7 separate regions of the Homo sapiens genome follow, and all the other regions are linked to region 3. Evidence: promoter capture Hi-C in 16 types of primary human blood cells and fetal thymus (Javierre and others, 2016). All regions are on one chromosome and are shown on one strand. The core of a region is centred on a gene start or on the middle of the fragment in contact, and the rest is flanking DNA. Distances in the headings are between cores, read along the strand shown.

The links. Contacts are between HindIII fragments. The CHiCAGO score rates a contact against its expected background, and 5 or more counts as called.
Region 1: a fragment that was not itself captured here is called in contact with the fragment with the promoter of SELENOT in region 3 in 3 of 17 cell types (total B cells, naive B cells and total CD8 T cells); the score reaches 7.9 in total B cells.
Region 2: a contact is called between a fragment that was not itself captured here and the fragment with the promoter of SELENOT in region 3, in 1 of 17 cell types (fetal thymus). The highest score is 5.7, in fetal thymus.
Region 4: a fragment that was not itself captured here is called in contact with the fragment with the promoter of SELENOT in region 3 in 1 of 17 cell types (total CD8 T cells); the score reaches 5.2 in total CD8 T cells.
Region 5: a contact is called between the fragment with the promoter of RNF13 here and the fragment with the promoter of SELENOT in region 3, in 11 of 17 cell types (fetal thymus, total B cells, monocytes and 8 more). The highest score is 13.4, in fetal thymus.
Region 6: a fragment that was not itself captured here is called in contact with the fragment with the promoter of SELENOT in region 3 in 2 of 17 cell types (total CD8 T cells and total CD4 T cells); the score reaches 6.8 in total CD8 T cells.
Region 7: a fragment that was not itself captured here is called in contact with the fragment with the promoter of SELENOT in region 3 in 3 of 17 cell types (activated CD4 T cells, total CD4 T cells and total CD8 T cells); the score reaches 11.4 in activated CD4 T cells.

The regions. Positions count from the first base shown.
Region 1 is chr3:151,277,798-151,281,322 of GRCh38, reverse strand. The region is part of intron 16 of MED12L (mediator complex subunit 12L); the gene reads right to left. P2RY14 (purinergic receptor P2Y14) reads left to right here and starts at 2,781. Exons shown (of 3, transcript NM_014879.4): 1 at 2,781-3,036. The HindIII fragment of the contact is 1,068 bases long and covers 1,069-2,136 here.
Region 2 is chr3:151,168,857-151,172,442 of GRCh38, reverse strand. All of the region lies in intron 11 of MED12L (mediator complex subunit 12L), which reads right to left. Among named protein-coding and RNA genes, the nearest start is that of GPR171, 33 kb to the left of the region's middle. The HindIII fragment of the contact is 5,138 bases long and covers 1-3,586 here.
Region 3 is chr3:150,601,787-150,605,824 of GRCh38, reverse strand. SELENOT (selenoprotein T) reads right to left here and starts at 2,504. Exons shown (of 6, transcript NM_016275.5): 1 at 2,326-2,504. The coding sequence starts at 2,462. LOC124900547 (a long non-coding RNA gene) reads left to right here and starts at 2,642. Exons shown (of 2, transcript XR_007096128.1): 1 at 2,642-2,881. RefSeq lists enhancers at 2,046-2,345, 1,620-2,393, 2,366-2,515, 2,636-2,715. The HindIII fragment of the contact is 3,294 bases long and covers 1-3,032 here.
Region 4 is chr3:151,194,952-151,198,786 of GRCh38, reverse strand. All of the region lies in intron 16 of MED12L (mediator complex subunit 12L), which reads right to left. GPR171 (G protein-coupled receptor 171) reads left to right here. Exons shown (of 3, transcript NM_013308.4): 3 at 1-955. The coding sequence ends at 360. Among named protein-coding and RNA genes, the nearest start is that of GPR171, 6.3 kb to the left of the region's middle. The HindIII fragment of the contact is 1,019 bases long and covers 927-1,945 here.
Region 5 is chr3:149,810,736-149,814,594 of GRCh38, reverse strand. RNF13 (ring finger protein 13) reads right to left here and starts at 1,380. Exons shown (of 10, transcript NM_183381.3): 1 at 1,242-1,380. RefSeq lists enhancers at 1,537-1,646, 1,512-2,023 and a silencer at 1,857-2,006. The HindIII fragment of the contact is 6,716 bases long and covers 34-3,859 here.
Region 6 is chr3:149,961,121-149,964,812 of GRCh38, reverse strand. It overlaps RNF13 (ring finger protein 13), which reads right to left. Exons shown (of 10, transcript NM_183381.3): 10 at 2,674-3,692. Among named protein-coding and RNA genes, the nearest start is that of PFN2, 7.9 kb to the left of the region's middle. The HindIII fragment of the contact is 7,519 bases long and covers 1-3,692 here.
Region 7 is chr3:151,213,409-151,216,968 of GRCh38, reverse strand. All of the region lies in intron 16 of MED12L (mediator complex subunit 12L), which reads right to left. It overlaps P2RY14 (purinergic receptor P2Y14), which reads left to right. Exons shown (of 3, transcript NM_014879.4): 3 at 2,629-3,560. The coding sequence starts at 2,653. Among named protein-coding and RNA genes, the nearest start is that of GPR171, 12 kb to the right of the region's middle. The HindIII fragment of the contact is 6,767 bases long and covers 1-3,560 here.

The DNA.
Region 1 (3,525 bases), core at 353-2,852, 680 kb before region 3:
TTCTCCTGCCTCAGCCTCCTGAGCAGCTGGGATCACAGGCGAACTCCACCATGCCCAGCTAACTTTTTTTTTTTTTTTTTTTTTTTTTTTGTATTTTTGGTAGAGATAGGGTTTCACCATGTCGGTCAGGCTGGTCTGGAGCTCCTGACCTTGTGACCTGCCTGCCTCGGCCTCCCAAACTGCTGAGATTACATGCGTGAGCCACCGTGCCTAGTTTAAAATATCTAATTTCAAAAACATATGAAGATAGAATAAATATTGTCAGGCTAAAATATTTTTTCAAACATTAATACTTACTTCCAATTCTAATAAAGGAAAATGTGTACAAGCTAAACTGTGATTTAAGCATATCCACAAAATGTACAGCACAACCTAAAGACTACTTCAAAGTCCAGTCCTGCTACTTTCTAGCTTAGACAACTGTTAAATTTTCTGAGGCTCTATTTTCTTACTTGTGAAAAAAAGGAATAGTTACTTCTCCAAGGGTTGCCAGGTGTTTTGGCTGTGAAAAGATCTAGTAGGCACAGAGTACGCTTCAATCGAGTGTACGAGTATGTGCATTTGAGACGATCCAATCTTTCCAGATGAGCTTTCCTTTCAAGTGCCTAGCTGTCTGCCCCCTACCCACCCCTCACCATCCTTGTACTGCTACGTGCCAATAAAACCACAGAACAGAGGTCACAAGCTGACTGCTCACAAGCCCAATACAGTGCACACTCAGGTTTTGTTTTAGCCCACAGGGTATCAGGTCTACACTGGTTTGTAAGGTATTCGATTTAGACACCAACAAATGAAATCAGAGGAGACATATAAAGGCAGTAGCAGTGCACAGGCTCCAGGATCTGCCCAGCTCCAGCAACCTGATGTAACATCTCCATGCCTCAGTTTCCTTGTCTATTAAGAAAAAGGTGGGGAAGAAGTAGTAGACAGACCTACTTTACTCATGGAGCCATTGTGAGTAATCAAGCTAAAACACACAGAGTGTTTAGAACAGTACATGCAAATCAGCGTTTAATGTTCTGAAGACACTGGCCCATCCCAAGATGAGGCCCATGACTCTGGCAAGCTTCCAGACACAACTGTCCCCCTGGGTGGGCCCTTTAGCTTTCCATTTCTCCATACTCCCTCTACTCCCAAGTGTCTTACACAGAGTCCAACCCATTTGTACCACCTGCCACGAGGGGACCACCTGTAGGGCTATCCTTTTGGCCTTGGACTTTGCAACTCCTGGCATTAAGAGGCAAGCAAGCAGCTCCAGTCAAAGAAATTATCATGTTCTCCCCAGTCATACTCAATAACATCTATGTGAAACACCCCACGGGGAAGTCAAGAAGCAACAAATTATCATGTTCTCCCCAGTCATACTCAATAACATCTATGTGAAACACCCCACGGGGAAGTCAAGAAGCACAAAAGGGACCCGGAACAATTAATGGGTGTTTTTGAGACTGTCAGAGTAAACAGCATCTCCTGCAATAAATCAGGGAAGTCTTGAGAGTCGCACCTTAGAGATACGGTTCCTGCCAAATCATCAATTTAATCAGCAAAATGTTTACATCTGGAGGACTCTGCAATGTGCCCTGGTAATAACCAGGCTCTAGCGGCTCCTCCTCACATCCACTTGTCCTTAAGTTTATTTACCTACCAGATCTCACTGCAGCTGAAGCTAACAAGCCTCTCTATGCACATCAGTATTCTTAGCCCCTCAATCAAAGCATCAGTGAGGACTATTGGGGCCCGCTGGGGGTCTGAAGAAGAGTCCCTCTGGCAGGGAGAAATGGCGAACTTCTCTAAACAAGCTCTGTGTCTCACAGGTCTTTGCCAAGGATCAACAGTGACTAGCAAGTCTGTGAGACAGAAAGTAAGAAAATACTCTTCATGAGGGAAATAACTGTTTGGGTATGTGTCAGTCACTACTCCATCTCCAATGTCCAGAACACTGCCTCCTACGTAGCAAGTACATATAAAGCAACTAGAATAGTAACGGGCATGTCATAAGCCAGTTATAATTATTATAACTAAATGTATAGCTATGTTTTTAAGGCAAGCTGAACTTTACTAGTTGTTACCCATAATTTGGCAATGGAACAGCCTAAGTAAATACACTTAAAATGCAGGAACCTTATAAAGTAAGCTTTTCAGCCCCTTGTCTTCTTTCTTTCTGGTTCTGAGTTATACACTTTGAAGAGGACTTTGTAGCCATCTTCTGAAAACTTCCAAATCTAATGGCACTAATAGTCAATGGGAAAGACAGTGGAGCACTGCAGGACATCACCAATTATATTACAGAGCCTGAAAGGAACTAAAAATATGAAGACTTTCAAAATAGTAACACAGCACAAACACCAAAATGTTAACACACGAGGAGTTTATCTGAAGTCCTACTTGTGATCTATTTATCAGTAATGTTCAAATATGGGAAAATTAATGTGGGAAAAATGACAATGCAACACCTCTTATCTAGAATATGTCGACATTGGTGTCAAAATACTTCTTTATTCTGTTAATTCCGCATTTCCAGGTAGCTCCAACTACCCATCTCTGCACGTTATACTGTGAAGCTGCTGACAATTTTCTGAGGGTGCTTCAGAAAGAACCATATCTTACACATCAGTTCTCCACCTCATACCACATGTTGAATTTGACAATGGCAAAGGTTAGAAAAGAAAACAGGTTTTTGCCTGGCTGTGCATCAGATGATGTAGGGATGTGGGGAAAAGTAGGAGGAGAAATAAGAAAGCAGGACTGTTTTTGCATTACTGGAGGAAAGGAACTAGCTCAGAAGTCAGCCTAACACCCACAGAGATTAAAACGTCTCTTCCTTCCTCTTTGTTTCCACGTCCCAGTCTTCAATAAATTCTATCTGACAACAGCAGCAGAGGGACCCACTATCTTGTGGTTTCTGTCAAGTTCCTGATTTTCATCCGTAGTTGAAGATGAGCAAGAACTCTGTAACAGTGTTACCTTGGAGCCTACAATGAGAGGTATTTCAAAATGAGTGAAGCATGACTCTCACAGATGAAGGCCTAGACGCAGGTAAGAAAACAGCTTTTCCATGAAATGACTTGCATGTATGTGAATGGTGCATGGGAACAGAAAAGATTTCTGAGCTGGGCAGCAACAAAGCTGAGGAACACTGAACCATTGCCACTCACATTTTTCTCAGTAGGTTACTTTTTGTTTGACAACTATAATTGGTATATTAATATATTTCCCCATGCTAATATGGGGATCCAATACTGAAATATTATCATTTATGATTTAGGATTTCCAATCGTGGCTGTCAAAATATATCTGTGATGAAGAGATATCAAGGAAAATGTTTAAAAGGTATTCATCCAGGACAAACATTTCAAAAGCTCGTAAATGTGTATTAAAATTGCTTCTCAAAACTACAAAATCGATTAGCATAATACTTAGGTCAGTATGTCTTTGTTTGCAATTGCATATGTGTACAGATATATAGTTGCATTTACTTGTACATACACTTATATAGGTAAAAGTTTTTATCTTTGTCATTATTAG
Region 2 (3,586 bases), core at 207-2,706, 570 kb before region 3:
ATGAGTCTCTGATCATATTCCTTCCAATTCTGCAGTTTTTAACTAACTCTATATACATCAGTCAGTAATAATAGCAGCTAGTGTTTATTAAGTACCCATTTACATGCTGGGAACTATAAATATTTGAATGGTTTATCAATCAAATATTTCATGTCATTTTCACATCGTCAGGAAATAGCATGCCCATTTTACAAAATGAGGAAACTGAGACTCATCAAAAATACGTGAATTGTCCAATGTCCCTAAAGAAATACACTAAACTGCTGATTTCACAGCAGAGAGCTCCCCTGTCAGCCACACCCCTACCTCTACCTGCACGTACTCTCTCCCACATCTGAATCTAAGCATTCGTCTAAGACTGATATATACAGATTCCATGACTGTATTCATCTCTACCTTTCCAAGCCAAATCTTATAGGGGTGCTTCCCCTTCCAGTTCACTGCCCGAGTAGCTTTTTAATGAGGTCTAAAAAATGAATTCAATAAATGCGACTGAGCATCTCCTGGGCCCCATGCATGGTACTTGGGGCTGATAATGTGCATAAGGTGAGGAGAAGAAGAAACATAGACCCCAGGGAAACGCTTGCAGGAAGACAAATGTGGAACAAGCCCAGCACTGACAGAAAGCGAGCTTTTGTCCTCTGGATCGTGGTGGTGAAGCAGAGTTCGCCAGCTGCACTGATACAAACCTGGCTGGGCCTGGGACACTCTGTGCCACAGGTGAGGAAAGCACATTTTCTAAACTTAGGGCCTTTGCCATTCAAAACATCACTATGAACTCATCACAACCTTTCAAAGAATTCTGCACGAATAGTCTAAGCATAAAACAAATCCAAACAATAAATATGTAAGTTTCCCCGTCTGGGGTGTGTGGTTTTAGCAGCAGGGAAGGAGGAAACACACATGCTGCTGCAGGAACACTCTGTCCAGTGCAGCCGGTTCCATCTTTTCATTACTCAGGATAAAGCTGGCTTCCTGGGACCCCCAAAGAGAGAAGTGAAAAGGCAGCTCTTCCTGCCACCTTTAGCCTGTCCCTTCTATCCATGTCCTTGAGGCACCCTAAAGATGCAGCTGCCTCCGTGCTCACACTCATCCCAAACAGAGAGATGCCAAGAGGAAGGAAGTGGTCTGAGGCCTCTGAAAAGCAAAGAGAGCAACTCCTCCTCCAGCTGCTCAGAGGTGAGGTCACAAGTGACAGGCTCAGTGAGCATGTGGAAACCAGGGGTCCCACTGTCCACATAACGACTCCTTTGTGTGGATGTCAGGATTTGCCACCTCCATCACCCAGACTAGAAATGGCTCTGAAACACTAAACAAGCAAATAAGTGAGTACATGTTGTAGAAGACATGTACCAGGAATTGAAAAGTGACAAGCATCTGAGTGAATATGGCCAGCAGACACACTGCCTGGCTGCACAGTATTTTAAAATCAGGAAAGTTTACATGCAGATCTTGACATCCAGCTTCTCTTGAAATGTTGGATGATCAGGGAACAGTGGATCCCAAGCAGAATCTAAGAATTTGAGAGGCTTCCCTCTTCAGACAGGGTCTGCCCACTTCCCAGACACCTCAACCCCCACCACCTCCAGGCTGCCTTATACATAGCATCCCCCGACTCATTCCCACTACCTGCCTGGCCACTGTGGGACATGAGCCCTGACCTCAGTATTACCATCTTTATATCTCACACTACTCTGAATGGAAAACTAAGCAGCACAGATCTAGAATAAGGAAACACTCAGGTTTTTGAGATTTTTATTTTCACCTCCCTTGCCATTATACCCAAAAGCCCAGACACAGAAACAGTGGCCAAGGAAATGGGGCGGTAAAGGGCAACAGGGAGGGAGAGTAAAGAATTAGCACATTCCAGGCCAGGTGCAGTGGCTCACGCCTGTAATTCTAGCACTTTGGGAGGCTGAGGTGGGTGGATCACGAGGTCAAGAGTTCAAGAACAGCCTGGCCAACATGGTGAAACCCCATCTCTACTAAAAATAGAAAAATTAGCCGGGCATGGTGGCAGGCGCCTATTAATCCCAGCTACTCGGGAGGCTGAGGCAGAGAATGGCTTGAACTCAGGAGGCAGAGGTTACAGTGAGCCAAGATCACGCCACTGCACTCCAGCCTAGGTGACAGAGCAAGACTCCATCTCAAAAAAAAAAAAAAAAGAAAAAGAAAAAAAGAAATAGTGCATTCCATGTGGAATCAGTGAAGGCACACCACATAGCCTGGCACACCCCAATGTGGGCACAGAATCAGCTCCTACTCCCACTCTCATGACCACAGTCCAACCACAAGGCAGGGCCCAGGCCTCGGATGCCTTCATCCCATGCACTGCAGTTTTCAACAGGCTTTCACCAATACTGAAACTGATTACACACACAAACTTCTCCCATTTAGACAGAAGTTCTCCCCTCCCTACAAGGAAGTAGAGAGGACTGCATTTCCCTGTCGCAGTTCCAGAGAAAAGGGAATTAAGGAATCAAGGAGGGTGAAATTCAGGTTTTCCCAACAGATGTGAAGAAGCAGGCTATGCAACCTGGGGCCTAGGCCTACCTAGACACGACTTCTAGTAACAGCAAACCTCCAACCTATTGCAACTACAGAAGTTGATCATGTTTTATCTATCGTGCTATCTAAATCCTGAATGAATTATGAAAACAAAAAAGGGGAAGTATATTTTAAAGAAGTGAGACCAATTTCTGAATCCTAACCACACGTAACTCCTTATCAGAGAACAGCATCATCACATTAGTTCTTCCAGTATAATACTAATAATTGCTATATTATTATTGTTAACAATTTTTAAAACATATTTGTATAGTGCCTTATAATTCTCAAAGTGTTCATGTTTCCTTAGAGAAAAAAAGGGCAAGTACTCTATGCCTACTTAACCAGGAAGGGCACTATTGCACAAAGCCTTGAGTAACTTACTCAAGATCACCAGCTGATCAGTTAACATGATGCTGCAGCACATGCATGAATTCCAGAAATACGCAAAGTGACTCTGCAGTCAAGAAAACAGGGCTGGGCACGGTGGCTCATGCCTGTAATCCCAGCACTTTAGGAGGCCAAGGCGGGTGGATCACTTGAGGCCAAGAATTAGAGACCAGCCTGGCCAACATGGTGAAACCCAATCTATACTAAAAATATAAAAATATTAACCGGGCGTGACGGCAGGGCACCTGTAATTCCAGCTACTTGGAAGGCTGAGGCAGGAGAATTGCTTGAACCCAGGAAGTGGAGGTTGCAGTGAGCCAAGATCACGCCACTGCACTCCAGCCTGGGAGACAGACAGAGACTCCGTCTCAAAAAAAAAAAAACAAAAAAAAAAAAAAACAAAGAAAAAGAAAACAGTAACCCCTGTTAAGGAGTAAATAGAGAGATAAAACTTGATTACATATACATATATACCTTGATGCATATACCATACATACAGATACCAACGACATATTTTAAAAATTAATTTAGTCCAGGCACACTGGCTCACACCTCCCAGCACTTTGAGAGTCCAAGGCAGATGGATCACTTGAGGCAAGGAGTTTGAGACCAGCCTGACTACAAATAGAAAAATTAGCTGGACACAGTA
Region 3 (4,038 bases), core at 1,255-3,754:
TCCTTTCTCAAACAAACTTGCAAATTAATGTCCACAAGATTCTAGCAAAACCAGAAACCCAATATTCACTTTACCATAAACAGATTAATCTCTGGGGGGAAAAGCAACAAACAACAAGCTAAGTTGATCTGTATTTGGTGGGTCTTATTAATAACGTTATTTCCCATCTACAGATTAAACAAAAAATGATCTCCGGTGGATAGTGTCAGAAAAATAAAAATAAAAATAATTTTTTAAATGGAAGCATTTTTGTTATATAACATGCTCAGAGTGACTGTAAAAGAAAATTATTAGACTTTTGGGACAGGTCTGTACTTAAAAACAAAGAAAAACAAAGTATCAAAAGTTTAACTGAAGTACTTACTACTTTTTTTTTAAGTTTAATTTGAAGGACTGAATGCCCTTCCCTACGTTTGTTTACACATTTTGAAAACCTTGCTATGAATAGCCTTGGTGGAAGATACACCTGGTAAATTATTGTGACAAGTGTTCCAAAAAAAGCAAACGTAAAAGGGGTATTTTGGAAAAGCAAAAATACAACCAAGAGATAAAAGTAGGATACAGAAAAATTAAATAATTTGAAAACTGCAATTTTTTAACACTTAAATCCGTAAGTATCACAACCCTTAACAATCTTTAGGTTAGTAAGATGATTACCACCTTCTAATTTAAAAATTAAGGAAAAAAGTTAATGGATAAACCATTCTCCCATTTGCAGTATTACATGAAAGATGATATATTCCAGAAACATAGTACATTGTACAGGGAGGTTTTTTTTTTTTTTTTTGAGACGGAGTTTCGCTCTTGTTGCCCAGGCTGGAGTGCAATGGCGCGTTCTCGGCTCACCGCAACCTCCGCTTCCCGGGTTCAAGCGATTCTCCTGCCTCAGCCTCCCAAGTAGTTGGGATTACAGGCATGCGCCACCACGCCAGGCTAATTTTTGTATTTTTAGTAGAGATGGGGGTTTCTCCATGTTGGTCAGGCTGGTCTCGAACTCCCGACCTCAGGTGATCCGCTAGCCTCGGCCTCCAAAGTGCTGGGATTACAGGCGTGAGCCAGCGAGCCCGGCCTTGTTTGTTTTTAATCAGGAGAAATTGCAATGTTTTAGTTTTCACTCAAAAAAATAAAGTCTCACCATCTTATTTTCTAACTCAAACATCACCTTAAGCCGATTTTTAAAAATTATTTTAAAGGTTTGCTTGGTCTTCAGTGAGTAAGTAAAAAGCTAGTTGGAGAAGTAGAAAATCAAAACTTTAATATACTAATACATGAAGTTCTTAAAAGAAGGTTTTAAATGAATGATGTCCAACACCAACATTCCAATGTATCCGGACTCTGATGATTTACTAATCTGGCTATTCTGGGATGGTCGGTTTATCCTGAGAAAATGTCATCTTTGGAGGTGTAAGATTCTCATTTCTATAATTTTACAATTTTGGTGTTTTTTCCCCCATCTTCAGAGCCTTTCAATCCCCACCCGCAACCCCACTTACCGTATAAAATGCATCATTGCCCTGCTTCTAACGATTAGGTTAAAAACAAAATCATTTAAAGAACACTGTCGAAAACTGCCGAGATCTGCTGGATACACAAGACAACTGAAAGGTAGAAAGAGATGCCAGAGCAGGCAACTCCTGGGAGGCAGGTGAGGAGGGAATGCGAGCGAACTGTCAATGTTTAGAAGAACAACGTGCTCCTTTTCTGACACTTTGGAAATGGCAAACAGAACCAGCATCCCCAGACCTTCCTTCCACCCCCTCCAGCTGTCAGACGCCCCATTCGCAAACTCAACAGTCCCCCCAGCAAGTTCAGGAGAAAAACGGCGTCTGTCACTCCCGGATCCTCTCCAATGACCCGAATTAACCTTCATCTAGCCAGGCAGCGAAGCCGCCCGGCATTACCCCGGAAAAGAGGGCAGAAAAAGTGAACTGACAAACGGTTGGCGCTCCTCCGCCGACGCGGCGCCTACTCATCCCCATCTCCGCAGGCAGCCGGGGTGGCTATGGCGTGACGCCGCCAACCAGTCCTCCGTACTAACAGGTGTCCCCCAGTCTTCGCCTTTCAGCGTTTAACCTTCTCGCGCCCTCCTTCCCCATTCCCACTGTTCTAGGAGGCAAAAAACAAGTGAGCAGTTATACCTGGAAAAGGAGGGCGGCCTGACCGCGCTAAGGGGCCGCGAGAAGGCTGGCTGTGGAAGGGCGCCGGCACAGTTCTACGAGGCCAGCGAAGATGCGGCCATTTAGGCCGCGAAGCCGGGGCCTCGCGTAGCCAATGGCGCCGAGCAGAGGCGCGGCGGGGTGGCCGGGGCCCAGTGCACATACTCACCAAATCTGGAACTTGAGCAGCGGCCCCGTGGCGTACTGCATCTTTAATCTCTTGCTGGGCACGCCGCCCAGATTGGCCGAGGCCTCGCTCCGGACCATCGCAGACGCCGCCACTAGGAGAAGCAGCAGAAGCCTCATCTTAAATGAGCCAGCCACTTCGGCCGCCCTCAGACAGACTGCAGCCAGCCCAAAGCCCAGGAGCGAGCTGCTCCCCACTGCGCAGGCGCGATCAGCCAAGGTCGGGGGAGGGGAGCAGTAATGCGCCTGCGCGGCCCGGCGCCCGCGCACACTCCTGGAGTGAAGAGCCGACCTGTTTCACTGTCCTGACTCACCACCATCTTGGTAGTGTGCAAGACTCTGGGACGGCATGAGAAAGGCAGAAAGGGAGCAAAGGAGCTGGTGGGGTGTCACAGGGCCTATGTATGAGGCAGATGTGAGTTCTGCATCCAGTTTTGCAATTTATCCATTTACCTGCCTGAGACTTGGAAACACCTACTTTATAGTCCTGATTCAAGTGTTGGCGGATGGAAGGGAGGAGACTCCTGACCCTCAGAATGGTAATGCTGAAATTTTTTGGGTGCGCTGTTATGGCCTTTTCTTTGATCTTACAATATTGCTTTCTCCTGAAAGAATATTAAACATAAGTTTTAGGAAACCTTTGGACAATTCCAAACATATCCAAAAATAGAATAACTACCTTAGCAAGCTTTAACAGTTACTATACATTTTGACAATCTTGATTTGTCTATATCTCTAAACACTTCTTCCCTTCCTAGGCATATTTGGAAGCAAATCTCAGACATCATATCATTTCATCTGTATATATATATTTTTAAACACGGTCTCACTGTCACCCAGGCTGGAGTTCAGTGGCGTGATCATAGCTTACTGCAGCCTCACACCCCTGGGCTCAAGCAGTCCTGCCTCAGCTTCCCAAGTGGTTAGGAATACAGGCACAGGCAACTATGCCTGGCTTACAATTATTTAAGCACATATTTCTAAAAAAGAATTATTATTAAAAAGAAAAAAAATTGACCACAGTGTTTCACATGTCCGTGTGAAGAGACTACCAAACAGGCTTTGTGTGAGCAACACAGCTGTTTATTTCACCTGGGTGCAAGCGGGCCGAGTCCGAAAAGGGAGTCAGCAAAGGGTGGTGGGATTATCATTGGTTCTTATAGGTTTTGGGATAGGCGGTGGAGTTAAGAGCAATATTTTGGGGGCAGGGGTTGGATCTCACAAAGTACATTCTCAAGGGTGGGGAGAATTACAAAGAACCTTCTTAAGGGTGGGGGAGATTACTGATCAACAAAGTACATTGATCAGTTAGGGTGGGGCAGAAACAAATCACAATGGTGGAATGTTATCAGTTAAGGCTATTTTCACTTCTGTGGATCTTCAGTTGCTTCAGGCCATCTGGATGTATATGTGCAGGTCACTGGGGATATGATGGCTTAGCTTAGGCTCAGAGGCCTGACATTCCTGTCTTCTTATATTAATAAGAAAAATAAAACAAAATAGTGGTAAAGTGTTGGGGCAGCGAAAATTTTTGGGGGTGGTATGGAGAGATAATAGGCGATGTTTCTCAGGGCTGCTTCGAGCGAGATTAGGGGCGGCGTGGGAACCCACAGTGGGAGAGATTCAACTGAAGAAAGATTTGGGGGTAAGGGGTGATATTGTGGGGTTGTTAGAAGGAGCATTTGTCGTATAGAAT
Region 4 (3,835 bases), core at 187-2,686, 590 kb before region 3:
CTTGTAATTCGACAGCTCTACAGAAACAAAGATAATGAAAATTACCCAAATGTGAAAAAGGCTCTCATCAACATACTTTTAGTGACCACGGGCTACATCATATGCTTTGTTCCTTACCACATTGTCCGAATCCCGTATACCCTCAGCCAGACAGAAGTCATAACTGATTGCTCAACCAGGATTTCACTCTTCAAAGCCAAAGAGGCTACACTGCTCCTGGCTGTGTCGAACCTGTGCTTTGATCCTATCCTGTACTATCACCTCTCAAAAGCATTCCGCTCAAAGGTCACTGAGACTTTTGCCTCACCTAAAGAGACCAAGGCTCAGAAAGAAAAATTAAGATGTGAAAATAATGCATAAAAGACAGGATTTTTTGTGCTACCAATTCTGGCCTTACTGGACCATAAAGTTAATTATAGCTTTGAAAGATAAAAAAAAAAAAAACAAAAAAAAACTCAGTATGAAAAAATACAGTTAGCTAGCAAATATGGACAGGTTTACTTAGAAATCCTGTTTCTAAATGCAAGTCAAGCTTTATTGTTAGGCTTGCTGCTACTCATTAACCCAAATATTTGTACAAAAAACTAAAGAGTCTCATTGAACGAATGTAAAATCCTGCAATATCCTTGAAATCCAAAAGAGGTCCATGACATAGACCCAAAGGTATTCATGAGTTATTCATTTAAATGCCTGGAACTGACTTCTTGATAAAAATATAAAAAATAATTTCCATGTAAGTTACCAGAAAGCCCACCAGCAACATAATTTTAAAGCCTTTCAGATTACTTTTAAAAAATGCAGCTTACATATAACAACTTGTGCCTATTTTATTTCTAATCTATCACTTCAAAAGATGGTAATCTTTCAACTCATTATTCCTCCAATTTTTAATGTCGAATTTTTTTCTAACACAATAACCAAAAGCTTTTATTTATAAAAAGGCTTGAAAAATATAGACAATCTTTAATGTATTATTTGTAATTATATTCTACCTGTAGGTTATAATAAAGGCTTCCTGATGTTAGTAATAATACATTTAGTGACTTCTCATTTCTATTTTGAAGTAACATGAAACACAGAGGCCCTGTAACATTTCAGAGGGAGTTGTTAAGTTATACTAACTACTGAAACTAGTGTTTTGGAACTAGAAAATCACATCGATAGCACATCAATGGTAAAACAGCACCAGTCAGATGGTCTTTATAAAACAGATACACTGACTTCGCATAGCAAGGCCGTGTTAGGAATGTAGCACAGGCCGAGCTACTCAGTGCCACCCAGGTCCAGAAAGATGAGCCTGACTCCACGTAGGGCCCCAGTTTAAAGTATAGGTGACTCCAGCCGGGCGTGGTGGCTCACACACTTTGGGAGGCTGAGGTGGGCAGATCTCAGGTCAAGGGTTAGAGATTAGCCTGGCCCACATGATGAAACCCCCTCTGTACTAAAAATACAAAATTTAGCCTGCTGTGATAGTGCACGCCTGTAATCTCAGCGACTTAGGAGGCTGAGGCAGGAGAATCATTTGAACCTGGGAGGCAGAGGTTGCAGTGAGCTGAGACTGCGCCACTGCACTCCGGCCTGGGCAAAAAGAGCGAGACTCTGTCTCAAATAAATAAGTAAATAAATAAATAACAATAAAGTATAAGCTGACTCCAGCTCTCAGAGTCACAACTCTGATCAAATTCTCTCCACTGCTGGTGATGCAGAAAGAATACACAGCATTAAATAAAAGACTTATTAGGAAAAAGAATATTGGAAAAATTTAGATAAGCATACATGATGACTTTGTGTTTTTTATTTCATTAGTAAAATAAGCCCATATAAAAACCGCTGGTAAATCCATTTGCATTAGCTGCAATGATTAAGAAATGGTGTTCCTGAAAGCTAGGAAAACAAGTTTGATTCCAAACTCATTTTTGCATTTCACAAATTATTTTCTAAAGCTTGAAAATCCTATCTACAATTCCATAAAAATATTCTGACTCTGCAGTGAATAATAAATGAGAAAATGCATGAAGTGCCTATTACAAAACATACAACAAGATAATGCTATACAATTCTAGCTAGCTAATGGTAATGACAGAAACTCCAGCAGCCTCACACATCTGACACAGTGTAAATGACTTACCTCAGTTGCAGGCTGTAGAATGCCTATCCACTAGAACCTGTGTTTGCTGGTAGTCTAGGAAACATGGTTCACTAATGGGCAGATCAAGTATTATTCACAGAATAGCATCATGAAACTGTTTTTCTGAATCTTTGGTCAAGCCCCCTTTAGTCCTCTTCTCTTTGGTCTTCATTTAGTAGGGCCCCATATGACAGATGGGGACATGGAAAACACTTTTCTTAACCATATTTTTATAGTCTCCTCACATGCAATGAGAAGCTAGTCAGATTTTCTCTTTTTATTAAGGGAAAAAAAACAGACAGTAGCATTCCTAAAGTCAGTGTTATATTAGCATATCCTTTGGCTTCTTCTGAATTGAACTCATGGTAACAGGGAGTTTAGGGCAACCAGTGGTGGAAGGCTATTAAAAAATGTATCCTACAATATCAATTGTCTAGCAGTTCTTTCATGAATTGTTATAGTTAAATTATCTCATGATTCATTATGACATGTGGTCACTGAAAATCATTTAAGCTCTTTCTTCCAAGGAAGTAGAATGTTAAATGCAGGGAAAGGCTGTAAAACCAAGGTCACAGGAACAACAGAATAAAGAAGCTGAGGCTTAGTGTCCAGCTCTGACACCCAGACACCTGGGAGAGAGACATGCAAAGCTCTGTTTACCCAAGAAAGGAACACATAACCCTCAACCATTCAACCAGTTTCAAACACTTTCAACATTTTGCCATCTTTGCTTAATTTATCACCCCCCTTAATTCTTTCTTTTAAATAAACTTTTTATTAGAGTAATTTCCGATTTACAGAGAAGTTGCAAAATAGTACAGAGAGTTCCATATGCCATTCAGCCAGTTTTCTCTAATGTAAATGACTTAAGAGAACCACAGTACATTTGGTGAAACTAAGAAGTTAACATTGGTATATTACTATTAAATAAACTCCGGACGTTAATATTGTCTCCCTTTTTTACCCAGAATATTTTAAAAACAAATCCCAGACATCATGATAGCTCATCTATAAATTCTTCAGGATACATCTCTAAAATATAAGGCTACTCTTTCTGCTCCCCTAAATAAACTGTGAGATTATTCCATTATATTATAAATGAATAATGTCTATAGGTAACAGTAGAAAAGCATAGATATTATTCAGGCAGTGATAGATAAGAACAAACTTTGGCAAGTTTTGACATATCCCTGGACATAGAAAAATTAACAAAAAATGGATTAATTGTAATAAGGAAAAAAATATGGGTTTGATAATTTGACAAGTTTTGAAATGGCCCTGGACATAGAAAAATTACAAAAAAAGAGACTTTTAACTGTAATAAGAAAAAAATAAATGGGTTTGGTAATTTTGAAAGTCATTTCAGGAGATATTCCAAAATACCAAAATAAATAAATAAATAAATAACTTAACAGAATACTTTGTTTTGCTGATAAAAACTCCTAGAAGATACCCAGAAAGTAACGTAATACATCTACAATTACTTTTTCTATTTTGAGACAGAGTCTCCCTCTGTCGCCCAGGCTGGAGTGCAGTGGTGTGATCTCGGCTCACTGCAAGGTCCACCTCTGGGGTTCACGCCATTCTCCTGCCTCAGCCTCCTGAGAAGCTGCGACTACAGGCGCCCGCCACCAGGCCTGCTAATTTTTTGTATTTTTAGTAGATACGGGGTTTCACCATGTTAGCCAGGATGGTCTCGATCTCCTG
Region 5 (3,859 bases), core at 131-2,630, 790 kb after region 3:
GTCCTCTGGTATTTTTTCTTTCTTTATAAAGCTTATGTCAATGTACTAAATTGATTCTAAAATCTATTAATGAATCCTTATGGGCCCTGCACTACAGCACTGCACTACACTTCCTGCACTACAGCACTGCACTACACTTCTTACCTCCTGTTTAAAGTTCTTTTTAATTGCTATCACTGTCCAGTTTTGTTACTTCGAGATGGAGCTAATGTCCACCCATTAAAAAACTGTGCTTAAATAGCATAAACTCTTGAAAGCCCTACCTTAAATCTTGAATTGATCTGTTTCTCCAGAAGAACTCTTTGGAGGCACAGCCACCTTACTTATTTATATTGTATCAAAAACTGCAGATGTTCTCCTTGGAGAACAAACACATCATTGTTGAAAGGAATGCATCAGTTTTCACTGTTTCTGCTGCATCACTGACGAACAGTAATAGCCGGGCAGGTTTGGGGCAACAAGAGAGGACCCGAGCAGCTGCCCACGGTGCTGAAACTGATGATGAAACGACAGTTTTGGAAATTTACTATTTACTATTGTCAGATTAGGACAAAATAGAGGAATTTACCAGACACTGGCAGAGAAAACTGAGTGGCCGCCACCAAAGTTGCATGAGTGCTTCCGGGATACTGCTGTTTGGCTTCGATGTCTGCCCACTCTCTCTTTCTCTCTGGGACAAAGTTATTTAATAAGTGCAAGTCAAGTCAAGTCAAGCATACAGGCAGAGCTGCTGACTGACCGTAGTATCTGGCCCTAGCAGGGGTTAAGTCCCAAACCTGCAATCTGAGCTTCCAGGGAAAGAAAAAGGGGGTGGGGGTAAAAGAGAGGAAGTGACTGCCCTCCTTCTATTCAGAGACAAAACAGCCCCCTCAACTAAAGTCAAGCGATGTGCCCGAGGACGTTGCGGCAGGTACTTGACCAAGAAAAGCCTTCCAAACATGTTTTCCAGGCAGGCTCTTGCAGCCTCAAGAAGGGAATGAGAGAAGCAAAACCGGTAACTCAACTTTGGACACACACAAACTCGCGGAATGAGAGTGCAGGGGAGACTCGGTCCCCCGAGGGCAAGGCTATTTTATTCCTTTTGCAAAAAGCCTAATTGACTTCTCACCCAGCTCTAGAGGAGCAGCAAAGACCTCAGCAGCAGGGCCGACTCCGAGCTCGAGGGCCAACAAGCGGGGTATGTTCTCTGGGCCGCTCGATAACGAGCTGCCCGGCTGCCGCGAAGCCGGACAGGGTCTTACCTTGAAGTCCGGCCCCCGCAACACAAACAGTCTTGCCAGCCGCGTCGCTGCGGGAGAAGTCCCTACCCTGATTTCATGACTGAATATCCGCACCGACCCCCACAGCCCGGAGTACTAGCAGGGACGACAACACCTAGGCGAAGCGGAAGTCCCGCCCCACGCGCCTCATTGGTCCGCACCCAAAGGCACAGAAAACCCACTGGGCAACATGGTTGCCTGTTAAGGCTCTTTCCCACTCTCACGCGGAGTCTCGCTACTTGCTCTAGCCCGGCTCGGAGAAATGCCCAGTTTGCGAGTCTCGTTCTTGGCCGCGTGATCCGTCTTCCCTGGAAGGGAAGAGCAGGGTGGGGCAGGCGTCTGCGGAACTGGAGCGCGGCTGAAGAAGCTGCTCTTGGCAGAGGAAGGGGCAGGCTGGCAAAGTGGATTGGCTGTGGGCGCCTGCCGCTAACCATGTGCCCCTAGAAACGGAGACCGTAGGGTCTGGAGGGCGCGGGACCGAGCGGGCAGGGCCGGTCGGTCTGATCTGCTCCGGCTGTTGGGACAGAGTAGCCCAAGATTCGGCTGCCGGGCTGCCCCCGGGCGGGCCTGGCCCTGGCGCTGACGCGTCTCTTCCCTGCACACTACACTCACCCGACCTACTAAAGAGGCGAGGGCGAGGCCTCATCCGCCCGCCTTCCGTACCGTGCCCAGTCTGAGATCAGAGTGGGTGGGGACCGTGGCCACACCTTAAAGTAGGGCTCAAATTGTTAGAGATGCGAGCGGCCCGAGGTCTGAACGCCAGTCCCCTGAGGCCTGGCTCGGATCCACGCTGGCATCAGCACTCTGGGCCTGACACGCGCCATCCCCGGGGCTTAGCAAAAGTCAAACCATGTGATTCAGGCCCTAGGTCAGCCTTTTAAAACCCTTGCCTCCTTTTGATGAACCAAAAATCTCCTCCCCTGCCGCCCTTCTGATAAGCCTTCCTTTCTGGTTGTCTCAATCTTAAACCAGTCGAAACTTAAATTACCGGATTGTACCATCCACATTGATTAATCATTGCCAACTCGCCACCTTACAAAAGCAGTGTGACTTAGGCAAATATTACAGAGTCCTGAAAGAAATGTCAGGAGACATAGAATCAGGCACTACTTCTGCTTCAAATAATAAGGCACCCTTAATAAGGCCTTTACAGGCTTCAACTCCTTCAACATCATCTTTTAAAAATGGTGGCGAGGAGGCTATCACACAGAGTATTAGTAGAATACCATTGGATGTAACTTGTCACTTTGATTGCTTGGAGAGCCCTGAGTAGGTGGGACACAGCAATGGGGAAAAGACTCTTTCCTTATTGTGTATCCTTTTGTGCCTTTTGAATTTTGAACCTTGCAAATATTACCTACTCAAATAAAATTCAAATACAAGAAATTTAAGATCAAATTTTAAAAAATTAAATAAAAGCTATCAAAGGTACTTTCCTCTTCTGTGTATCCTATGAGTATTCTATGTAGTCTTAACTTTTCATTGGTTGCAAAGACATTCAATACTTAAATCACAATTCTGCCTTTAAGAAAGTCATAAATAAAAGTCAGCATTGGGAATATTACTAAGAAGACTAATTAGTATAAACACATTTATAATATCTCTATAAGCATTTTTTTCATTAAATTATCCCAAATTGGTATATTAAATCAGATTTCTTGCATAACATCAAAATAAATTTTTTTAGGCCGGGTGCGGTGGCTCATGCCTGTAATCCCAGCACTTTGGGAGGCCAAGTCAGGCGGATCACTTGAGGTCAGGAGTTCAAGACCACACTGGCCAACATGGTGAAACCTCGTCTCTACTAAAAATACAAAATTAGCCGGGCATTGTGGTGCACACCTGTAATCCCAGCTACTTGGGAAGCTGAGGCAGGAGAATCGCTTGAACATGGGAGGCAGAGGTTACAGTGAGCTGAGATCCCACCACTGCACTCGGGCATAGGCAACAGAGCAAGATTCCATCTCCAAAAAAAAAAAAAAAAATTAAGTCCACAGAGAGGAGCTTTGGGTTTTGTTGTTTTATTTTTATTTATTTTAGAGACAAGGTCTCACTCTGTTGCCCAGGCTGGAGTGCAGTGGTGAGATCATGTCTCACTGCAGTCCAGAACTCCTGGGCTCAAGTAATCCTCCCACCTCAACCTCTGGAGTAGCTAGGATTACAGGCATGTGCCACCAGGCCTGGCTAATTTTTTTATTTTTTTTAGCCTTACAGTCTGGCTATGTTGCCCAGGCAGGTCTCAAACTCCTGGCCTCAAAGGATCTTCTTGCCTCGGTCTCCCAAAGTGCTAGGATTACAGGCATGAGTCACCACGCTCAGACAAAGAGCTTTGCTTATTCCTTAAAGGCACCTTGAGTACAGAATATTTTACTTCTGGTTTCAACCTGCTCTTCAGATAACAATAGGTATAGTTCTCTCAACTATGAACAAGGTAATGTGTCATTTGTACTGCATTTAGGCTACACTCTGCAAAAACATTTACTCTCCCAACCTGTGCTGAAAAAGGTAAATTGGAAAAAAATATATTGGAAAAATGTATTAATCTTTCTAAAGCAGATTAGACAGTAAGATTGACAGATATCATAATTACAATTTTCAAG
Region 6 (3,692 bases), core at 897-3,396, 640 kb after region 3:
GTCTGCTGCAAGCATAAAACTTCAGCAATATTAGGTGATGGCCTACTTCAAGTAATATTACAGATAAAATTAGTGCCTGGGAATTTCTTTTTAATGGACTCTGATCTGTTACACATAGCTTTTAGTCATTTCAGGCTCATCTTCAGGAGTATGTGAGAAGCAACTGACTTATCTGCTAGAAAATAAGTATTTTCCTCTTCTTGCTGGTTTCTAGATGTGAAATCTAATAGTAAAGGGAGTACCAAGAAGGGTTTCTGCACTATTGTGGATTTTTCTGTATTGAAATGTCATATGACTTTAGATTTGGAAGCTGTGTTGGCAGGCTGAAGTCAGCCAGCTGGGGCCCTCCCACATAAGAGCAGAAGACATTCCTTAGGCAGCATATAAGATAATTGGGATGCTTTTGCATTTTTTGGCTTTGTAGTGACATGTTGACCATGGCTGTGTAATAGGTTTAAATCCAGAGGCCATAAAATCCCTGATATATATTGAAGTTTGATAAATATGTAAATTTAGGGCTATTTACATAAATCATTATTACCAACAACTGTCAAGCGGACGCTTAGAGCCAGGGGTGCTCAAAAGTTAGTAGGTCTCAGTAAAACTGGGGAGCTGGTTATAAGGCAGACTATGGACTCTGGGGTTCCACTCTGGAGATGGAGAGTCCATAAGCCCAGGAATCCCTTTTCAGAAACAATCACTGAGTCAGTCTGATTCATTTTAAGTGGTGTATATGCTACCTTTTGAGAAAAAATGGGTTAGGGAATAGGAATTAACCTGTCTTAAAATATACTATGCATAATGAAAGTTTTTTTTTCTTTGACTAGTTGTCAGGCACTGGTTGTGAATATGGTTGTACATACACAGGGATGTACAAATATGGGAGATAAAGGATTTGGGGCTATTTTGGTAGTTGGACATAACCTAGAAATTGTAAAACTATAATAAAAACCTGGTATCAGTTTCTTGACCTGTTAAGGCCAAAAGACGGGGCAAATGAAAATTTGGTGGTTGAGTTGTGATGATTTGAGATTTTACAATAATACACATTCACACTTTACATGTAAAGAACTATTAGGGTAACCAATTATAGAAGGCAGTGACCAAAATTCTGAAACTCTTAATTAATCTGTAAGTAGGTGAAGGGGCAGTGTGTATGTGTGTGTTCAGAGAGGAGGTTGTGGGTAGAGAAGGTGGTAAAGGGTGAGTGTATCACTAAAATAGTATATAATGAAACTATTCATTGGCTTTCTACCCACAATTTCATTAGAAAAATACTTAGGGAAATACATACATGCGTACTTTGCTTTGTACTTAGTTCTAGGAATTTAGCATATGGAAATGAAGCTATACAAATTTGTATACCAGAATGTCCATCATGCTGCATTACTTATGACATCCAAACTTGGAAAATATCTACAAAGTTCAGCTTTTTAAGGGGTATGGTTTGAATAAATGATTTTAAGTCCATAGGACAAAATAGTCATTGAAGAATGACATAAGAATGTTTACCAATGAATGTTAATAATATAAGGATATAAACATGTCACATGACAGTGCACATACATACAGTATTAATATACATGTATTTTACATATGTATTTCTGAAGGCAATATATTAAGATAAATTTATCTCTGGAGTGAAAGTTTCCAGGTGACTATATTTTGATTTCTAGTGTTAATATTACTTTTGTAATCAAGAAAGTTTTAAATGTTTTTTAAATAGAAATTGGATTTTAATTGCACCTACTGTCCTGTTTGAAAAGCTATACCATGAAATTATAGAACATTTCAAGTGAACATTCACAGAACCTAGTAACAGCCCTAGCCAGTGCTGCTAAATAAGACACTTCGTAGATTTTTTTTTACAGTTAGTTAGTAATTATTTGGAATTTCAAAAAAAAATTTTTTTTTCCATAAAACTCCTAACATAAAGGGACCAGGTCCTTATTCTAAACTTTGGATTAAAGACTGAGGGAATATAACATCTAATACATACTTAACCATTACCGTGACTTTTTACTTTTTTCCCTTTTCCTATTTTAAAATATTGTTTTAGGTTTGTTTTTATTTAATAATAATTATTTTGAAGGCTATTACTTATTGCGCATTGATGTGCCAGATACTGAGCTCAATGTTTTCTCCTCACACCCTCTTAGGTTAAATGAAAATTATGCAAATGACCAAGCAGGTTTAAAAAGGTTAGGGCCATACAATTATGTCAAATTCCAAACTCTGCTTAACTACCGTGGTAACCTTTGATGTCCTGTTTCTCAGGCCTGTGGTTCTTTAATTTTTTATAAAAAAGGGGAAGAGGGATGAGGTATCAGATAGCTGATGTTGAATTCAACCGTTTATTTTCCAAAGTAGAAATACCTATTTATTTTTTTCCTGATTATGAACATTATTTTTTAAAAGGCAATTTGGAAAGTGAAATTTTCCCTCGATATACCATAATTTACAACAGGGTACCAAAATGTACACTGTTTATTTTTGGAATAATTTTGGCAGCAGTCTAAACTTTTTGGGATATTACCTAACTGCATGTGAATGGTCAGTTACCTTGTATAAAGTCCTAAGGTGATGTGATTTCTCTGACCTCAATCATTATCACTTTATAGGATATATATAAATAAGGCTAATATGGTAAGTAATACTACAGTAGAACAGACATTTACTGGATCTTAAAGTGGAAAACATGTTTATTAACATTCAAACTCCCCTCATACAAGGCCATATAAAAATCCTTAGCATTTTGATTATACATTAGTCTACACTTTCTACATAGTTACAATGATGTATAATTTAGCTTTTCATAATACAGTGTTTCAATACATCATTAGTTCTGTTAAACATAAGTCACTTACTTTCAAATCCAATACTTGAACAGTTTCCTCTGTACATAGTTTAGCAGGGCTAATTAGCATAAGATGCTATTTATTAAGAGGTATATGATCTGAGTATTAACAGTTGCTGAAGTTTGGTATTTTTATGCAGCATTTTCTTTTTGCTTTGATAACACTACAGAACCCTTAAGGACACTGAAAATTAGTAAGTAAAGTTCAGAAACATTAGCTGCTCAATCAAATCTCTACATAACACTATAGTAATTAAAACGTTAAAAAAAAGTGTTGAAATCTGCACTAGTATAGACCGCTCCTGTCAGGATAAGACTGCTTTGGAACAGAAAGGGAAAAAACAGCTTTGAGTTTCTTTGTGCTGATAGGAGGAAAGGCTGAATTACCTTGTTGCCTCTCCCTAATGATTGGCAGGTCAGGTAAATGCCAGAACATATTCCAACTCAACAACTCTAGGTAACTTTATGGAGGTGGAAGCTGGGTTAGTTCATGCTAGGTGGCTGTAGCACTGACCTCATGTATAAAACGCAAAACACTTAAATACTGTGATCTAGGTCTTAATTGCAAGCTATACTGAGGATTTTTTTTTTTTTATGTTTTGGCTATACTTTCATTCCAAAAGAAGAGCTGAATTGATGCTTGAGTTACAGCACCAGTCTATTATTAGTGAATGAAGTATATTCTTGGCAGATAAATACCAGATCAAAAGTCCTGTTTCAGTAATTTGATTAAACTGTAGAATACTAAAAAATAAGTTATTTCTACAGAAATCTTTGAAGGGAGCAAAAAATCAAATTACAGTATATACCTAATCATTTTAAAGGGAAATAAACC
Region 7 (3,560 bases), core at 898-3,397, 610 kb before region 3:
AGGACTGGGAAACCAAATTAGACCTGGGAATACAGCAGCATGCATTCTCTCAAGCTCTGCAAGACTGGCATTTAAACCAAAATGCATCTAACTGTCAAGAGACAGTTACCAGACAAATTAGTTACCAGCCACAGACTCTTAGTCACAGTAGACAGCTAAAAATGGAAAATGTGCTCCCCCTCCCTTATCTTTTAAAATATGAAACAGGCTCATAAGGAGAAAGGCGATAGAAGACCTACAAAGAAGCAAATGAGTACAAACCCATCATGCCCAGAGCCAAGCACACAAGGCTACAGGGAAGAGGAAGAATAGTGCTAGTGAAAGGTTTTGTGGAGGAAGTGATTTGGGGTACTCATTCCTTCTATAGGAAGTCCATAGACTGGCAAAATCAAGTCTATCAATATTTCTAGTTTTGCCATAAAGCAAAAGGAAAGCATATGGGAAAGGAAAATACGCAGAAACAAGATATTCTTGTGTAGGAAGCAGCACACAAGTTTACATGGATGTACTATTTTTTATGTGGAATGTGACTGTATTTCATATTCCATATTTCAAAATATCCCTTTGTCATGCTTAAATGTATCAACCTAACTTGTCATTCACTGTGATATGCACTGTGCTGGCACCACAAATACAGATGAAAAAGATGCATTCTCTGACATCAAGGTACCCACTGTTCCCACAATCTTTCTTTCCCTTGATCCCTGAATAAATCTTAAGAGCAAGGATTCATGCCTTGTATTCCCAGAGTGCATATTCATTTATTTCACAAATATTTTAACTATCTAATGCCCTAAATATTATGCAAAGAATTCAAGAGTAAAAAAATGACATGATCTTTCTCCTCTGAAGGAGCTTGTAGTAGTGGAAGAGACAAACAGCTGGAGAGAGGAGTGTTGATAGGAGAAAGACACAGGATGATAAGCACACACTCAACCCACCCCAAACCAGGCTAGGAAAGTTGAGGTTTCCTAAGGAAAGTGACAGCTAAGCTGAGGCCTTGAGGATAAAGAGAAGTTAGCCAGCCAAGAAGGTATGGAAACAGTTTTCCACACAAATGAAAGTCTGTGCAAAGGTCCAGGCTGAGAGAAATCACAGAACCTAAAAGGAGGCAGATGGGCCCAGGACAGCAGGAACTCAGTGCTGGGGGTGGAGGAAGCAGGAGGCAGAACAAGAAAGGACTTCAACATTACAGACTTAGGGCATTCTCCTGAGGGCAAGGACAGACTACTAAAGGGTTTTAAGCAGGATAATTGGTACTGTTCACATATAAGATGGGCAGTAAACATCTGTTCCGATATATCAAATAACCTTTTGAATTTAATTCTAGTCTTCCCTCTGCCCTAAATCAACACTTCCGACATCAGTGAAGAATATACAGGATTCCTAAACAATAGAAGTTCTGGATAACACCTAGCACAGCACTGTGCAATAAAACCATAATGTGAAACACATATGTAATTTAAAATTTCCTAGTAGCCAGAGTCTTAAAAAGTAAAATTAAGTTAAATTTAAGAGTAATAATATATTTTATTTAATAGAGCATTTGTAGAATATTACTTCAACATGTGATCAGTATTAAAAATACTGAGATATTTTACATTTTTTCATTCCAAGTCTGCAAAGTCTAGTGTGCATTTTATACTTAACAGAACATCTCAATCTGGACTGGCCATATTTCAAGTGCTCAATACCCACACATGGCTAGTGGCTACCATACTGAATAGTACAGATGTAGAATGTACTTTGGGAAGCATTTCTCAGAATGCTTAAAGTACTTTTTATCATTTGTTTGTATTTGTATTCTAATTTATTAAAATAATGCAAATCAGTTTTTCAATGGGAAAAAAAAAAAGCTCAATATTGAAAAGGTACCCATAATCCCATACCAAAAATACCGGTTAACATTTGAATGTATATGTTTGTTAGACACTGTCTTCATGTCCAACATATATGTAGAATACACTTTTCTAAAAGTAAGGTCCGTCTGAATAGCTCTTAATATGTAAACATTTATAATGATTTTTATGAATCCATAAAAATTTCTCTTTTAGGAAAAAACAATCACATTTCCAACATAGGTTTTAAAAAAATACATTACACATGGGATTCTGAATAAAATAAAACATTAATTCTGCTTTTACAGTTACTACCTTTTAAGATTATACCTAAATGAGTATTTCCTAGAACTCTGGAGTTTTATAGGGAACCATTATTATTTTAGGGGCATGCTGGTCTCCGTATTACCTAGAAGTTCTCAGAGACTGCCCTGCTGCTCCAGTTTCTCTTTACTGCCACCTGTCTGCTCCATTCTTCCCTTTTCATTGCCCAAAAAAAAGGAAGAAGGAAGAGGAGGGAAAAGGGAGGGGGAGAGGGGAGAAGGAAGAAAGGAGTGGGGGTTGGTGGGTAAAGGGGGAAAGAGGGAGGGAAAGGAGAAAAGGAAGACCAAAAGAAAGAAAAGGAAGAACAGAGGGAGGGAGGGATGAGTGTCTAACTTACACAGAGTAAAAAGGTGGCTTCAAAAATTTGGTAGGTTTGACTATATTCATTGCCCTTTGCCTTATTACTCAGCAAATGTCTTGGAGGCCATAAGTGCCCTATGAGTGACCAGTTCACACCTCTTTTCAGGCCTCTGCCTTCAGAAGTTACAAGATGATCAATTCAACCTCCACACAGCCTCCAGATGAATCCTGCTCTCAGAACCTCCTGATCACTCAGCAGATCATTCCTGTGCTGTACTGTATGGTCTTCATTGCAGGAATCCTACTCAATGGAGTGTCAGGATGGATATTCTTTTACGTGCCCAGCTCTAAGAGTTTCATCATCTATCTCAAGAACATTGTTATTGCTGACTTTGTGATGAGCCTGACTTTTCCTTTCAAGATCCTTGGTGACTCAGGCCTTGGTCCCTGGCAGCTGAACGTGTTTGTGTGCAGGGTCTCTGCCGTGCTCTTCTACGTCAACATGTACGTCAGCATTGTGTTCTTTGGGCTCATCAGCTTTGACAGATATTATAAAATTGTAAAGCCTCTTTGGACTTCTTTCATCCAGTCAGTGAGTTACAGCAAACTTCTGTCAGTGATAGTATGGATGCTCATGCTCCTCCTTGCTGTTCCAAATATTATTCTCACCAACCAGAGTGTTAGGGAGGTTACACAAATAAAATGTATAGAACTGAAAAGTGAACTGGGACGGAAGTGGCACAAAGCATCAAACTACATCTTCGTGGCCATCTTCTGGATTGTGTTTCTTTTGTTAATCGTTTTCTATACTGCTATCACAAAGAAAATCTTTAAGTCCCACCTTAAGTCAAGTCGGAATTCCACTTCGGTCAAAAAGAAATCTAGCCGCAACATATTCAGCATCGTGTTTGTGTTTTTTGTCTGTTTTGTACCTTACCATATTGCCAGAATCCCCTACACAAAGAGTCAGACCGAAGCTCATTACAGCTGCCAGTCAAAAGAAATCTTGCGGTATATGAAAGAATTCACTCTGCTACTATCTGCTGCAAATGTATGCTTGGACCCTATTATTTATTTCTTTCTATGCCAGCCGTTTAG